Linked DNA regions of Homo sapiens: region 2 is linked to region 1. The links are contacts of gene promoters, found by promoter capture Hi-C in human tissues and cell types (Jung and others, 2019). All regions are on one chromosome and are shown on one strand. The core of a region is centred on a gene start or on the middle of the fragment in contact, and the rest is flanking DNA. Distances in the headings are between cores, read along the strand shown.

What was found. Contacts are between HindIII fragments. The study calls those that stand out against the background at their distance.
Region 2: a contact is called between a fragment that was not itself captured here and the fragment with the promoter of UACA in region 1, in 2 of the 25 tissues and cell types used here (mesenchymal stem cells and mesendoderm cells).

The regions. Positions count from the first base shown.
Region 1 is chr15:70,761,235-70,766,631 of GRCh38, reverse strand. UACA (uveal autoantigen with coiled-coil domains and ankyrin repeats) reads left to right here and starts at 3,074. Exons shown (of 19, transcript NM_018003.4): 1 at 3,074-3,302. The coding sequence starts at 3,225. RefSeq lists a silencer at 2,900-3,309. The HindIII fragment of the contact is 5,114 bases long and covers 1,054-5,397 here.
Region 2 is chr15:70,562,963-70,568,359 of GRCh38, reverse strand. No RefSeq gene overlaps it. Among named protein-coding and RNA genes, the nearest start is that of LINC02204, 21 kb to the left of the region's middle. The HindIII fragment of the contact is 4,641 bases long and covers 180-4,820 here.

The DNA of each region.
Region 1 (5,397 bases), core at 1,825-4,324:
TTATCTAATCCAGAACACAAGTTCCTTGACAGCAGGGATCAAAATAGGGGTGGTAAGCAGATCAACTTGCTCCATTTGTATTATTTGAGATTACCATGTGTATATATAATCTAGTAAAGTAATTTTAAAAAATGCATTACCCTTCCTGGTATATATTGTAAATAAATAAATATTGGAAAAAAAAAAGAAGTAAAACAAAAAAATATTTTATATAGGCTCAGTGTGATAACAAACAAAAGGTCATCTAGGTTTGATAAGTGCCCTTTGCTCTGAAGGGAAGATAAAAATAAATAATAGTGATAAGAGTTAACAAAATAAAACCCAACCTGTCTGGTTGAATGCTAATAATAGTGACTTTACTTCATATAGGCAGCTTCCAGATCAATGTAAAAAAGCTTTACTGAATATTCAGACCAGTGCTATTTACTTAGCTGCTCTCAAATGGGAATAAGCAGACATCAGCTATCAAGTTTCTAGGCTGGAAAAATCCATAAAGGCCACTGGACACAGACACCATGGGGACATCATCCAGACAGTTCATAAAAATAACTTGCCCAACATTTTTGGAACCTGATGCAAGCTATACTTGTGGTTCTGTCTGTTTCCTTTGCTTTATCCAGTAACAACAGAAAAGGAGGCCAGTCACCAGGACTATGATAACTTGGATGTTACAGGAGACAACCAGTACAACATAACACTGCAATTAATAACTCAAGAGCCAATTACTGAGACAGTGCTCTTGTAAGCAATTAACATTTAAGATTCAGTCAGAGGACTAGATGGTAAATGGGTGCTTATCTTAAGCCCAGAGAAAGGAGTTGATTGAGACACAAATATTTGAGCAGGACCATAGCCTCAGATCATTCCATCTGTGTTCACAATAGGGGGAATCCCAATCCTGTGTCACATAAATACATAGAACAAACAACCATAATTTGCTATAGTAGTCAATAAGAATGCATCAATTCATTCAGAAATATTTATTAAACACCTATAACATGCTAAGCATTCTAGGGAATTCAAATATATGTCAGTTATTCCCCAATTTTAAGTAAATTGAAGTCCAGTAATGAAATAAGGTTTGCTCAGCTCATATGTGTTAGTATCATATGAGAGGTATAATTGCTGTAACTATTTGGAGGATGGAGAGATCACTTCCAGTTACTTGATCAGGGAAGGTTCTATAGAGAGGAGGGCACTTGGAAGGGACATACACTTAAAAACAAACTTTTTGTTAAAGCATAACACACACATAAAAGAGAATATATTGCATACAGTACAGGCTCATTGAATTTTCACAATCTGAAAACACTAGATATGTAACCAGCACCCACAGAGAATAGTACAGTATTCCAGAAGCCCCCGACATCCCCTACCAATCACTCTTGGGGGAGTAGGATTTTCTGAGATGAATGTAGACAGACAGAAGATTATTGGGGGAGGGATCAGTATGCATAAAGATGTGGAAGTTGAAAGCCATGACCCATGTTTGGAGAATGGGCTGAAGAGTAATTCGCTTGGGGTGTTGGCTAGAGAACAGGGTCGCGTCCACGTTATACAGCTTTAAATGCAAAGAATTAGATTTTATTCGTTAGCTGCTGAAGGCTTTTGAGCAAGAGGAGTATTTTTGTAAGACTTATTGATGATGGCTGATAATTTATTGGTGATGGGACAATTAAGAGACTGAAGGTTGGGAGACTGGCTGGGAAGCTTCTGTAATAATAGTCCGGGTATGAGGTAATTTTGGCTCTGCAGTGGCAGTGAGAACAGAGTAACTGACCATACACAGACACTTTAAAGAGCCAACAAGAACTAAATGACTGGAGATCTAGAGGAAGGGGGAGGAATCAAAGAAAATTTTCTTCCAAAGATCTAATCAAGATGAAATTTAATAATATTTTTGGGTAGTTAGTTGTTATTTACTTGTTGTATAGGGTTAACACAGTCTTTGAATGCTGCCTCTCCAAGAAATTCTGAAAACTTTCTTACAGTATTTGAAGAAAACCTTGCGTTACTATAAAGAAACTCTAAAGAGAGCAACTGACCTTTCAGACAAAAAAGAGTCCTTTGTTAGTCAGAAAATGTGGACCGTTTGTCTTTTCAAATGGATGCATGCTACGATAAACGTTTTGCTGGGGGGAAAAATGACTCCAAAGAAGACTTTTGAAGATGTCACCCGAACAGCAAATTATTGGGTGCTGAGCACCTTCCTGTTTCTTCATCCTCTTAAATAATTTTTACTAACCCAGATTTCTAGGTAAGATGATTTAACTTCATCGTATACGTTTACATGTAATGTGTTTCTACAGAAAACAAAAAACCTTTTTGAAGAAAAAAGGGCGTAACTTTTTTTGACAACTTAAATCACTGGCTGTGGGAGTCATTTTTAATTGATGGCACCTCTTCTCCTCCCTCCCCGCCCCCATTCCGTCCCTTTGCTTCCAATACGGCGGATTCTTCACTCAACAAATAAACGAGCACGTAACTTGTACTGTAACTTACTATAACGTCTTTCAAGGTCTTTCTTAACTGTACGTTTTTCTGCACAATCAGCACCTTATTTCTTAGAGACTGTTTATTTCTGGAATTTTTGATGCGTGTGGTGGTTTCCAGGCACCAGGATTTGGTAGTAAAACAGGAGACTGAAAAGAAGTTGCTCCTGAAAGCTGTTCTGTGTGCAGGTAACCAAGAGTCATTTCTAAGACCAGACGGAAGGGAAGGAACTTTACTTGGTAAAGAGCGCGTGGGTGGAAAGAGGAGGGGAGTCCGGGAAGATGAGAGGTGGCAAAGGCGGGACCCCGTGCTCTCTCTAGATCTTAAGCTCCGGGTGGGCGGGCGCCGGTGGCCTGGAGCCCGGCCTGCGCGCATCTCCACGCCTCTGGCCGCCCACCTCCTCCGCCCCTTCCCGGGCTAAAGTTCCCAAACTTTTCCTCCAGCTGGGAGAGGAAGGGTGTTACTCAGTTTAAAAGGGAAGTCCCGCCCCATTCCCGCATTCCGATTGGTCGCGGTTTGCCACGCCCCCGCCAGGGCAGCGGGTCAATTGGCTACGGGAGGGGAGCCCCGCCTCAGGCCTGTCGACGTCTGCTGCCCGGGGCCCGCAGGTGGCAGGCAGGTGGGGCTGGTACAGCCCGCGCCGCCTCTGCTGCAGCCGCTGCCGTCTACTCCTTGCGCGCTGGCACTCCGCAGCCTTTAAGGTTCGCGCGGGGGCCAGGCAAGAGTTAGCCATGAAGAGCCTCAAGTCCCGCCTGAGGAGGCAGGACGTGCCCGGCCCCGCGTCGTCTGGCGCCGCCGCCGCCAGCGCGGTGAGTCCCGCGGTCCGGGCTGCGAGGCGCTCCGCTCCGGGAGCAGCGCAGCCCTCCTTTGCTGGCGAGTTCGCGCGCCGCCTTCCTCTGCTTTTCCTCTGCCAGTTCGGCTTCGGCGGCCCTGGCGACTCCTCCCTGAGGCCGGAGACTCCGTCAGCCCAGAGACCCCGGGGATCCTCCCCGCCGCCGCACCCGAGCCTCTACGGGTCTCTTCCCCACCCCTTTCTCCCAAGCCTCCGAACTTCTGGAAGAAACCTCAGTGGGGCGGTTCTGGCCCCCTCCTCCTAAATCCAAAGTTCCTCGATTGGCACCCCTACTCCGCTCTTTCCGTTGACCCCCCCTCGTCGCTCTCCTCTCCCGGCGCTCGCCCTGCTGCCCACGCCCGCTCGGCCGTGTTGGCTCCCCAGTCCCCGGGGCCGGGGCTCGCACCAGGTAGGGCAGGTGGGCAGGGCTGCGCACCCCGCGCCACCGTGCCCGGACTCCGGACCTTCCCCGGGTCTGAGACAGCGTCAAGCCCTGCCGGGCTGGTGGACGTCCCGTGCTGGCCGCTGTCGTTGTCACTGGGAAGTTTGATTCCCCAGCGAGGCAGAGGGAATCGGCTTAGTCGTAAAGACAAAACCCCACAGGGTGGTGACCCTAGAGGTGGTGAAGTTGGGAGGGGTGGTGGTGATGTGGGTTGTGTAAATCGCACCTGTGGGGCGGGATCCGTGCGGGGCTCTTTCGGTGCTGACCTGCAGCGCGGCCTCAGTGTGCGCGCCAAGGAGTAGTCGGGGCCTCTTTAGTTGGCAGGAGAACAGAAATCTTGAGAAACAGCCTGACCGCAGATGTTGTGATTTAGATAATTTGTCACGTTACAAGAATGGCGATATCATCAAAATTCTATATCATTAAAATAAGTGCCACTTACAAAGTCTTGGAAGAGTCGAACGTAAAGGAGTTGTTATGCTCCAACTGCACAGTTACCTAGTTGGGGTAATTAAAATGAACCTTTACAATTCAACGCAGATTTTACCAAATGATTATATTCTTTTTATCAGAATACTAATTAATCTGCTTCTGCTTTTTTGAGTTAATTCAGTTATGCCTTTCTCTCCACCTATATCGAGGATTATTTTACTTGGACATAAAGGAAATTGTGGAGGAACTACCTAGACTTAAATTCCTATTTCAAAAAAAGAGAGTAGATTCAGATGACGTAATTGATGTTCTTTGATAAAGCATGAAGTCGTTTTATAAGCTCATGGAAAACAGAGATTACTTTGTTTCACTTTTTTTTTTAAAAAAAGTAACTGGCAGAAATGTCATTTAGTGATATTGGAGTTCATTACAGTTAAGATTCTACTTCTGTAATGCAAGTTGTGTTTTTAGCCTTATAGAAGATACAAGTTTCTAGATTTATTAGCTTTGTTTTCCCTGGTTGTGTTTGATTTGCACTAAGGATGTAAATCCCACTTGGAGGTTTATATGCCTTAATTTTATCCAGTTTTCTAGAAATGCAGAGTATTTAGTAGGTATTATCAGCATGATAGTTTGCATTTTATACATTTGGAACATAAAGTGCATATCTCTGAGCTTAAATCTTTAGCACTCAATTGAGCGTTCTATTTTTCTCAAAATGACATAATAAAGATAAACATGATATTAACCTATTTATGTAGAAAAAGCAAACATTTCTGTTTAAATATTAGAATAAGTTCTGTACAATTTAAAAATAAAAGCGTAATGAGGAATAAAACTTAGAATGAATTCTGTAAAATTTTAAAATAAAACTGTAGTGATGAATAAAACCAAACCAAGCATTGATAGAATAAAACACATGTACAGGAGAAATAGACCCTTTCTGCTTTTCAATCTATAAACCATAATCCCAGATTTGGTCACATGTATATGTATTTATTGTATGATTGGGCCACCCTTTTTTTTTTTCTTTTTGCCTTTAAAAACAGTTATTTTTTGAATAGGTAATATAGCACATGGTTTAATATTGGAAAGGAATAAAAATATTTACAACAAAATATCGACACCGTGTTTCCCTAACCCCTGCTTCAGCCACCCTGCCCCCACTTCCTGAGGCCACTGATGATACAGTTGCTTG
Region 2 (5,397 bases), core at 1,251-3,750, 200 kb after region 1:
AAGTGTAACATTGGCAAACATATATTGAATACTAGAATTGTAAATTTTTATTTGTATAAAAATATTTAATATCTAATTTTAAATGTTTGTTTCAGCTTTAAGTACCTTTGGTTAAAAATATTCATATCCATTAATTATGATTTATATTTTGCTTTTTATAGCAATTTAGAATATTTTAGAAGAAAAATAACTTGCTGAAATCATATTTGAAAAATATTCAATTTGTACATAACTTTAAGATATTTAAAAAATAAAAGTATAATCACAGTTTATTCTCTTTGAATACAGTTATACTTTATTTTTAAATCTTTGACAATTATTATCAATGGAACAAAGTTTTGTAAGGATTAATGTACTTGAAGACTTTGCTAAAATGAAGGCAAAAAGTGTATATTAATATGAAATAATATATGGATTATGTCTCTATTTTATTACTCATCCAAATATCAACAGCCCATCCATCAATGGGCTGCACAGACATGTACAATAATTGAATCCATCTTTGATATTGCTAAGACTTTCAGTCGTATCTAAAAACCACAACTTTATTCATCCTTTAAAATTGTTATGAAGGTATTTGTGGGTCAAGGTAGCAGCAGAACATCATGTGTTATGAGATGGCAGCCTGAGTGGTAACTCACACATGTAGACACATGGTATGTGGTCCCCATTTGTCAATTTCCCTGGCCCCTGCCAATGTTTGGGCTGTTTGGGCAGGCCTGCGTACTCTCTTCATTTTTTTTTTTTTTTTTAGATGGAGTCTCTTCTCTATAGCCCAGGCTAGAGTGCAATGGCGCGATCTCGGCTCACTGCAACCTCCACCTCCAGGGTTCAAGCGATTCTCCTGCCTCAGCCTCCCAGGTAGCTGGGATTACAGGCGTATGACCCCATGTCCGGCTAATTTTTTGTATCTTTAGTAGAGACAGGGTTTCACTTTGTTGGCCAGGCTGGTCTCGAACTCCTGACCTCATGATCTGCCCACCTTGGCCTCCCAAAGCGTTGGGATTATAGGCATGAGCCACCGTGCCCGGCCCTCTCATCTTTACGCATAGCCAGAGAAGGATGTGGTTCTTGGCATGGCAGAAGGCCTTGGAGCAGGATGCCGGGCAACTGTGCAGACCAGGCCACGGCTGCCTTGTATACGTGTCACTGGAGCGAAGGCCACGCCGAGGCCAAGGAAGGGAGAAGTCCTGGGAGTCACCCCAAGGTCTTTGTGAGAGGCCCAGGGAAGCTTCCTCATGCACATTCTAAGGTCCCCCAGCAGCACAGGGCCCTGCCCACCACACTCACAAACATGGATCCTGTGGAACACGCTGCAGTGTGAGGCTTGGGTGAGAGGATTGCAATTTTAGCTCTGCCACTTTCTTCCAAAGTCACTCTGAACGAATCCACTTGACCTCTCGGATCTTGTTTCTACATATGTCAAATGGGAATCCTAATTCTCATTTTCCAGGGCTGTTGTGCAAACTGGGGATATGTATTTAAAGTATATCACATGGCCCCTGGGATGTGGCTTAATACCTGCTAACCAATAATCTAGCACAGGGAAACTGAGAAAATATGTTAAATGAGAAGCTATGGTCATCCTGGCAGTTAGTAGCAGAAAGAGCCCAGGCATTTGGAGGCCCAGTCTGATGTTCTTTACCTTTCCAAGCCCTGGAAACCCACATGTGCTCTGCCACCCATTTGCTCTCCCACCCAGCCCCGGGTTCGAGGTGGTGGCTGTCCTCTGAGCTGCGAGGTGTCCAGGTCCGAGCACCAGCTCACTTTCCTCAGGATCTAGCTCTGAGGATTTACAGCCAGGCTGGGCGCCCACTGGAGGTCCCCTTACCTGTAAGTTATTCCACCGGTAATTAGATTTCTTTCTGTTGTGGGAAGCCAGCATGTGTAAATCCACAGAAACCTGTGACCAGATGATATAAGGGTCACCTGAGCCTCCGTGCTGCCTAAAATGCATCTTCCAGGAAAATGATTTCTCTGGGCACATAAGTTACTGCGTTCCCAGGACAACTGTAGCTCAGGCTCTGACCATTCCCGTAATGCTGTGTTCAAGTGATGTAGTGTTCACAGCTCTCTCGGCAGCCCTCTTGCTCCCCTGCTGTCTGAGTGGAGGAGCCTCCAACACTGGCTGTCGCTGGATACAATAAATGGAAAGGGAGGAAGGACGGGGGAGGGAACTGCTTCCTCGGCAGCCCACCTTCCTGCCCAGGCTAGACCGACTCAAGTTCAGAGAGCCTTAGTCCTATAGGGGAGCCACTTGGAGTCTAGAGACACTTTGAGCTATGGCAGAAATCACTATCTACATGCAAAAGGATAAAATCGGGCATCTACCTTGTAATGTGCACAATAGGAAGTCCCAGATAAATTAAAGAACTGCACATTAAAATTATTAACAAACTGTATATGTGTGTGTGTGTGTGTGTGTGTTTTGGGAGGGTAGTGGTGGGGAAAAGGACTTTCTTTTTTTTTTTTTTGAGACGGAGTTTTGCTCTTGTTGCCCAGGCTGGAGTGCAATGGTGTGATCTCAGCTCACTGCAACCTCTGCTTCTCAGGTTCAAGCAATTCTCCTGCTCAGCCTCCTGAGTAGCTGGGATTACAGGCGCCTGCCACCACGCCCTGCTAATTTTTGGTATTTATAGTAGAGACGGAGTTTCACCATGTTGGCCAGGCTGGTCTCGAACTCCTGACCTCAGGTGATCCACCCGCCTCGGCCTCCCGAAGTGCTGGGATTACAGGTGTGAGCCACTGCGCCCGACCAGGCCTTTCTTAATCTAACACCAAACCCAGAAACCACAATAGAAAAGTTTGGCAGATTGGACCACCTAAAAAGAAAAAAACCCAAACTGTATTGTCAAAGGTACCTTAAATAAATCAAAACATAAATTACAGTCTGGGAGAAAGTATTTGCTACATATTCTAGCAGGAAAACTGTGAATGTCCACACTATAGAATGTATTCCTTCAAATTGATCAGAAACAGCAAAAATGGACAAGTGGGCAACACACACACATACACACACACACACACACGTTATATACAACCACTTCATTAAAGAGGAAACAATTACAAGATAGCCTCACTAATGCCTAAAGAAATGTAAATGAAAACAGCAATGCAGCATTAGTTTTTGCTTGTCCAGTTAAAAAGAACTGGTGAGAATGAAGAAATGAACACAACACACACACACTGCTGGTAAAGTGCCACACACCTTCGAAGGGAAATTTAGTAAAAGACGTATCAACCTAAAATGTGCTTACTGAATAATCTGGCGGTCTCTCCTCCAGAAATTTACCCTCCAAAAATTGTAGCATAAATGTATAAAGATATATGTCCAAGGATATTCACTGTATTACTGCTTATTTTAAGAGCCAAGTTTCTAAAAGTTTAAATTTCCATCAAAGAACATGGGTCAGATAAATTAAGGAATATCTAGGCAATGAAATTCTAGTCTCTGAAAGAAATGAGGTAGACTTGTGTAGTAAGAGCTGTTTTCCGAGCATTTGTCTTGTGCTGGGCACTGATGTGAGTGTTTTATATATGTCACCTCATTTAACCCTCTCAACAACTTTATGAAGTAGGCAATGTTGTCATCCACATGATGCACAAGAGGCCCAGAAAGGTTATTAGCCTGCACGAGGTCACACAGCTGTGAGAAGTCAGAGCTGGCATTAGAATGAGGCAGTGGGTTTCCTGAGGCACCCACTTGGAAAGGGTCACAGATAAAGTTTAAATGTTAAGTGATAAAACAGCAAATTGCAGCAAGATGTAGCATAACTGCATTTTGGTTAAAATATATGTGAATGTATATAACCTATATTATTTATATATATGTCTACATTATCAAAAAAATAAAAAGATTAATTTGGTGGTGATGACTGGAGGGGAAGTGGGAATAGATTAGTTTCTTCCAAAAAAGTAGTGAGATTTAAAAAAGAAAACGGCCTTCTCAGTCCTTTGTTTTTATTTATTTTTCATTATCGATTGACTTGAATAAAATAGAAAATGACCCCATCTGGTGATAAGAATACATCCTTGAAAAATAACACCCAGTTTATGCCAGAAACAAAAATCTCAGTTTGGAAGCAGAGCTGAGTTACTATATAGTGGTAGATAAATCACCAAGGCTGCAGTGAGCTATGATCATGCCACTGTACCCTAGCCTGGTCAACAGAGTGAGACCCTGACTCAAACAACAAGAACAACAACAAAATGCGTGATTGAAAAAGTGGCCTATTGCCTCTGTAGACAATGTGGAAGGGGCTGATGGGGTGGACTGGCCATCTTGTCGATTCTAGGAAGCTTCTGCCTCCCATGCCATCCATGCTGCATTTGCTTCTCTCCTGGTTTTCTTCCCAGTATCCTGTTTCCATGACATCCTGCTCCAATCCTCCAAACCCAGAGAGCAACCCTGGTCAGGGATGGGGAGTCACCATACAATTGAAGTGCCCTGACTTGATTAGGGGATGACATAGGAGGCAAGTCCAGGGTGGAGATCCTGGTCCATTTGCTGGTGGCCACGAGATCTATAGCCGCTTGACACACAGGGATGCTCCGGGCATGGCAGGCACCTGGGGCTCTGTGGACTGTCTGGCGCATGCTGCTGGAAGCTCAGAGTAGTTCAGCACAACCTGGCCACAGAGGTAAGTGCTGAAGCTGGAAGGCAGTGGCCACGCCACAGTGGGCCATGAGAGCCATGTAAAGCAGCTTGGACAGGCCTAGGCCAGTGGTTCTCAGTCAAAGGTCATTGCTCCCCATTTTATAATGTCTGGAAATGCTTTTGGTTGTTACAACTGGGGAGGGAGTGCTACTGGTATCTAGTGAGCAGAGGCCAGGGATGCTGCTGAACATCCTGCAATGCACACAAAGTCCCTCTACCACAAAGAATCATCCAGCCCCAGATCTCAGCAGTGCTGAGATTTCAAAACCTGCCCAGATTAGACCTTTCTGCAGCAGAAGGGGGTGAGGGTCCTGACGGTTCCACATCTGGAAGGAAGTTCTTTAGCTGCTGTGCTCAGATTCTGAAGAGAAGCAGATTTCTCCAAGGCCAGGTGGGAAGAGCCAGCTCCATCCTCCCTAGAGGGCTGTGTTTACAAGGAGCTGGCAGGAATTAAGTTCTAATCATGATGAACATTGATACAGTGCTTGGCAGGTGGCAAAGTGCTTCCTCCTGTGCGTGGGTTCCCTACAGACTGGGGTCCTCTACACCACCCCCATATTGTTGGAGGCAGGAGAAGAGACGGGGGAGTGGGGAGACTACACCTACTTCTCATTCTCCCATGAAATGAGTTCCTGTGATAAAACTCTCCATGTTCCCCACTTTGATCCTAACTCTGAATTCAAGCTTTGCTTACTGGAAGCCTTCCCCACCAGATGCCAGGCCAAACACATTCTTTTACC